2 separate regions of the Homo sapiens genome follow, and region 2 is linked to region 1. Evidence: promoter capture Hi-C in 16 types of primary human blood cells and fetal thymus (Javierre and others, 2016). All regions are on one chromosome and are shown on one strand. Each heading gives the region's core, a stretch centred on a gene start or on the middle of the fragment in contact. The rest is flanking DNA. Distances are from core to core; before and after follow the strand shown.

Region 1 (3,009 bases), core at 345-2,844:
GTCCACCGGGTCCTCTCATCCTCCCTTTCATCAAAAGGCGGAAGGTGGCCTGAGACTAAGGCGTGGAGCTTCCTTGGTCCTGAAATCAGAGCGGAGTGGCTGGATCCAGCCCGCCCCTCCCCCGCCCCCTGCTCCCCTTGCCGCCCCACCACCGAGAATCACCTGCACCTCCCAGCCCTGAGCAGAGTTGGGGGCAGGCGGGAATGAGGTTTCTCCATGGCCAACTGCTCAGCCACTGTTCCCCACGCCACTGCCACCAGACCCTCACTAAGGGGCCTCTTGCCCCTCCCTGGTCAAATCTGTTTTCAGGAAAGCACCCAACAAACCTGCAACTCAGAAGCCAAATGAGACCTATCCCAGGCAGGTCCGCTCTGCGATGGTGGCTCTCATACACCGCACAGAAGTGTAAGTTGGCCCCCCCCTCACTCCCTAAATCCATGTAGATGCCCTTAGCCAAACAGGTCTGGTGTGTGGGGGCAGGAGGGTGGAGGTAGGAGCATCTGGGGGCTGGGGCTGGCTCCAAGTGCTGCAGAGAGTTCACTATGAGCTCTGAAGTCAAACTCAGATCCTGCTCCTTAGCTGTGTGGCCTTGGGCAAGCCCCTCAGCCTCTCTGAGCCTCAGGCTCCTCCTCTGTAAGTGGGGCTGTTGGAGGGATGAACTGAGATACACGTGGCAAGGTGCCTGGCCCTGAGACTGGGGGCCCCGTAAACAGCACCTGCTGCTCTGACTGAGGGGCAGTTGGAGATGAGGGGGGACTTACAGGCCCAACACCTCATCAGCAGGATGGGCCCTGGCTCTGTACACATAGAATGTTGGAAAGCTATGTTCTGGGTCCAGTTGCAAGACCATCCTGCCCACTTGCTGGGTCGCTGAGGCAGAGCGCCCTGGACTGTGCTCTGGAGAGCAGGGGGCCGTCTCTGCTCACTGCTGGGCAGTCAGAGTCAGGTCCCCAGGGAACTCAGATCAAAATCTCAGGGCAGCCTTGCTGGGTCTCAGCTTTCAGAATTGATTTCTTTGGAAGAACAGGAGGCATAGCCAGGCCAGCTGGCAATGGCTTCAGCCACAGTCCCCCAGTGCCCCATGCTGGGTGATTGATGGTAGGAGCTGTGCCTCCCTGCCAGCCCCCCAAGCCCCATTCCCTGCCATGGCTCCGACAGGGAACTCCCTGCAATTCTTAGGTGGATCCTGAAACACCCAGTCCAGACTACTTTTTCAGCCTCACAGATGGCCCAGAGATAGATACTATTAGCCCATTTCACAGATGGGACCCCAGTGAGGTCTAGAGAGGCTCTGCTCTAGCTGAGCTGGGACTCAGATCCTACTCCATGACCTCTGCCAAGGTCCAGGCCCTCTTACCGTCCTACGGGGTCCTTGCCGGTGTCCTCAGCCTCTGCCTTCCAGACCCCAGGTGTCCTGGAGCTCTGCAGATCAGAGAGGCTAGTACTGGAAGCCTGGGCCCATGCCCCCAGCAGCCCCCAGCCCAGGGGGCCCCCAAGGCTGAACAGCAAGCTCAGGATCATCTTGGTGGTGGGGCAGGCTCAGCTCACACTCAGCCTTGGCAAGTAGCTCCAGAAACTGCTAGTGACGTTGTCTTCAAGTTAAATCTCAGGAGGAAAAGAAAATACGAGGACAACAAAGAGAGGAAGTGGCCTGGGCCGGCCTACCCGGTGGGTCTTGTCCTGCCCCCCAACTACCCTGGCTGGCCCCACAGGGGCCGCCAACCACACAAGCCAGTTCCTGTCCCTGAGGACTTGGCTCAGGGACTCTGGGAATGTGGTAGACATGGGGTGGCCCCACCAAATGCATCCTTATGGGAACCTGCTCCCTGGGAGCCATGAAAAGAGCGTGGACTTCGAGGTGGGGCCACAGGAAGTGGTCAGGTCCATCTCAGGGGACCTGCTGCCCATCCACACTGCTGGCCAGGAAATGGGGGGCAATTCATGCCTCCTCAGCACCTTCAGCACTGGGCGGCTCAAAGAAGGGAAGGGACTATTCTGGGGTCACACAGCATGCAGCCAGAGGCCAAGGCATGAGGAAGTCCTTCATTTCCCCACCCCCACCCACCTCAGATCCTCCAACCGGTTTCATGGCAGCCCAGGGTCCAGCGGCATCCAGGATGCTGGTGGGTAGCTGCACAGCCCAGGCCGCGGGAGGTTGGCTGCTCTCACCTAACAGGCCTATGTGGCCCTGACCCCTACCTAGGAAGCTGGGGACAATGGCCAAGGCGCCTCCCCTCTCTGTGCCTGTCTGTCCAGGTGCAGCATAGACACAGCACCCCTGGGGCCAAGAGCACCCAGCCAGGGCTGCCCCCATGGGTGGGCAGGGCAGTAAATGAATGAGGGACAGGTTGGGAGGTGGCCAGCCCCCTCCAGCCCATGGAGGGCACGGGGCAGGAGAGCTGGGCTGAGCCAGCAGGAGCCCAGGGAGCCTGGTCTCTGCCTTCCTATCCTGGAGGAAGGTGAGGCTGAACCTCCTTCCCTCCCTCCCTCCCTCCCCGCCCCCACTGCACGCAGGGCTGGCTGGGCTCCAGCTGGCCTCCGCATCAATATTTCATCGGCGTCAATAGGAGGCATCGGGGACAGCCGCTGCGGCAGCACTCGAGCCAGCTCAAGCCCGCAGCTCGCAGGGAGATCCAGCTCCGTCCTGCCTGCAGCAGCACAACCCTGCACACCCACCATGGATGTCTTCAAGAAGGGCTTCTCCATCGCCAAGGAGGGCGTGGTGGGTGCGGTGGAAAAGACCAAGCAGGGGGTGACGGAAGCAGCTGAGAAGACCAAGGAGGGGGTCATGTATGTGGGTAAGTGGGGCATGGCAGGGTGGGACAGTGTGGTGGCCAAAGGGTGAGTGCCCAGTTACCTTCGCCAGACCTTACTCCCCAGCCCCAGGGAGGCATTTTGGGAGGGGGCGAGGCCCTGGCTATCAAGGTGGGGTCTCCAGACCCTGGAGCACCCACAATGCCCTGTGCACACCTATGTGTGTTTGTCTTTGGCCTCCTCGGGGCCTCTGGG
Region 2 (3,009 bases), core at 287-2,786, 430 kb before region 1:
AAGTGTGTGTGAGTGTGTGTGTGTGTGTGTGTGTGTGTGTGTATTTAGTCTGTGGAAGCTTAGTATATGAATATTAAGCAGAGCTCTTCTGGGCTCTGTACCCTTGTGTGGCTCACACTAAAGACACCCCTCGGGCCCCTCCTGGAGGGAGTTCAGACTCCTGGCCCTGCAGGCTGTACCACCACCTTAACCCCTTACCTCCCTGCTTCCACTGAGGCAAGCAAATGCCCTGAAGTCCCCTCATTCCCTTACCAGGGCCCTGGGTTCCACACCAGAATGAGCAAACAGAACTCCAGTGTGGGTAACACATGGCTGAACAGCTTTTTGTTGTATTGTTTTTGTTTTCTTAGTTCTCTCAGCTCAGGCTCCATCCCCCTGGCCACCTCAACCCCTAGAATGGTTGTCTCCATTTCATGAGAATCTTCACACTAACATCAAGTAGCCAGTAGGTGCTTTTGGTTTTGCTAGAATGCCTGTGTGCAAGCTCTCAGATACCTGATTTTCTTTCCCCCACTGAATGTTGTGTTTGTCAGAAACTGAAATCATGGATCAGAGCCAAGTTTGTAGTACCCTTAGGAGGGGCCTCTGCCCTCCTGTGTGCTGCCTGGGTGAGGACAGAACCCCCTAACCTGGAGCTCCACTTGAGTGGGCCCATACCTGTACTTTCCTCTGAAAAAAGAAAATCCTGCAAAGAAAATAGAAGACATCTGTTCTGCCATTGCCATGCCCTTGTTCTAGCCCAGACATGAGAACTGTCAGAATTGGAGTTACTAAATAGAACTTTTAGTCTTTTTCTGATAATGTGTAGTAAAGTGTATTACAACTTATAGAATTCTATTTAGGGAACTACAGGTCAGAAACTACCATATTGGTAGCAGTCAATTTTTCTTTGCCATCGGATGTGGAATAAAATGTTAAATTGTACACTTGCATGTTGTGGTTATATTACAAAGCTCTACGAGATGTGGGCCAGGCCCTGCCCTTTGCTCATGCAGCCCCAACTTTCTGCTCTGCCCACACCTGACTCCTTGCTGTTTCCCCACCTTAGGGCCTTTGTATTTCCTATTCCCTCTGCCTACAACTCCCCCAGATACCAGCCTGCTTCAATTCTCTCCTCTAGGTTTTCACTCAGATGGGACTTTTCAATGAATCTCCCCTGACCAACCTATCTTAAATTGTTGCAACATCCTCACTCCTAAATGTCACTGTCCCTGCTTTACTTTCTTTAAGGGCATTTATCTTCCCATCTAACATATCAGGCATTTTGCATGTTTATCTTAAATGTTGTGCTCCCTCTGAAGGCAGGGATCTCTGCCTGTCTTGTTTTCTGCTGCAACCCTAGCACCTAGAAGACTGCCTGGCACAAGAGTAGGTGCTCAATAAATATTTGTTGAATAAAAGCACCCATTTATTTCCTTCTTTCATGTAAAATTATATACATATATTATATATATATATATATATATTTTTTTTTTTTTTTTTTTAGACGGAGTCTCGCTCTGTCACCAGGCTGGAGTGCAGTGGCGCGATCTCGGCTCACTGCAATCTCTGCCTCCCTGGTTCAAGCGATTCCCCTGCCTCAGCCTCCCCAGTAGCTGGGACTACAGGCGCACACCACCACACCCAGCTCATTTTTTGTATTTTAGTAGAGATGGTGTTTTGCATGTTGGCCAGGATGGTTTCGATCTCTTGACCTTGTGATCCGCCTGGCTCAGCCTCCCAAAGTGCTGGGATTACAGGTGTGAGCTACCATGCCTGGCCACATTTTTTTTTTTTTTTTTTTTTTTTTTTTTTGGTGACAGAGTCTTGCTCTGTCGCCCAGGCTGGAATGTAGTGGCACGATCTCCAATCACTGCAACCTCCACCTCCAGGGTTCAAGCCATCCTCCCACCTCAGCCTCCCAAGTAGCTGGGACTACATGTCCATGCTATCATGCCCCACTAATTTTTGTATTTTTGGTAGAGATAGGGTTTCACCTTGTTGCCCAGGCTGGTCTTGAACTTCTGGGCTCAAGCCATCCACCTACCTTGGCCTCCCAAAGTGCTGGAATTACAGGCATGAGCCACTGCCCCTGCCTATATCTTGAAAGGAAAGTGATAAAACTATCAACAGTTTCACATAACCTGGTAGCTCTAATAAAATGTTAACTGGGTTTTCACAATTGGGAGGGGAGTGCTTTCTGGAGAACTTTTGTTCTTGCCTTGGATAGGTTTTCATTCTGAGAATTGAGAAAATGAGTACTGTTATAATCCCAATTATCATATTTCCCAGGATAATTGGAATATGTTCTCTGGAGATAGTGACGTCCTCTGGGGAATACACTGCTGTCTAGGTAGATGAAACACAAAGCAAAGGAAATTCTCTAGGAGCACATTGCCTGACAAGGACCGGTACAAGCAACCTCGAAGAAGTCTGGCTTCCTGACCCTTGTCCTGGAAACAGCCCTTTTTTATTCAGGATCCTCACCCTTAATACTGTATGATACCCGCCTAGTCAAACACCCTGAAGGGTCCTCCTGTAATACTAAAATCCAAAGTTCTTAACGGTGAAAAGGCCCTGCATGATCTGGCCCCTGAGTACTCCTATCCCTTCCTACCTTGCCGGGCCTGCCTCTGTCTACTACTAGAACATGCCAAGCCAGCTCCTGCCTGTGGGCCCTCTTCGTACTTGTTCCCTCTGTTAGTCCTCAAGAGACACACACAACTCATTCCCTGCATGCTTTCAGGTCTTTGCTCAAGTGTGTCTCTCAGTAATGTTTTCCTTGGCCATGCTATTTAAGGTCATCCAGCACCCTGTATCTCCTTTTCCCTGCTGCTTTTCTCCATAACATAGTCATTACGTTTGCTTTGTGTATGAACTTGTTTATTATCTATTTCGTTTCACAAGAATATAAACTCCATGAGGACGAGGATGGCTGACTTTTGTTCATTTTATATGCCAAGCACACCTAGAATAGTGCCTCACACACAGAAAGTGTGCTATAAATATTTGTTGACTGAATACCTGGAT

The links. Contacts are between HindIII fragments. The CHiCAGO score rates a contact against its expected background, and 5 or more counts as called.
Region 2: a contact is called between a fragment that was not itself captured here and the fragment with the promoter of MMRN2 in region 1, in 2 of 17 cell types (naive CD8 T cells and naive CD4 T cells). The highest score is 5.2, in naive CD8 T cells.

What each region holds. Positions count from the first base shown.
Region 1 is chr10:86,956,021-86,959,029 of GRCh38, forward strand. MMRN2 (multimerin 2) reads right to left here and starts at 1,595. Exons shown (of 7, transcript NM_024756.3): 1 at 1,358-1,595. The coding sequence starts at 1,521. It overlaps SNCG (synuclein gamma), which reads left to right and starts at 2,579. Exons shown (of 5, transcript NM_003087.3): 1 at 2,579-2,798. The coding sequence starts at 2,678. RefSeq lists an enhancer at 2,869-3,009. The HindIII fragment of the contact is 12,184 bases long and covers 1-3,009 here.
Region 2 is chr10:86,524,178-86,527,186 of GRCh38, forward strand. WAPL-DT (WAPL divergent transcript) reads left to right here. Exons shown (of 2, transcript NR_186498.1): 2 at 1-924. Among named protein-coding and RNA genes, the nearest start is that of WAPL-DT, 3.7 kb to the left of the region's middle. The HindIII fragment of the contact is 2,960 bases long and covers 57-3,009 here.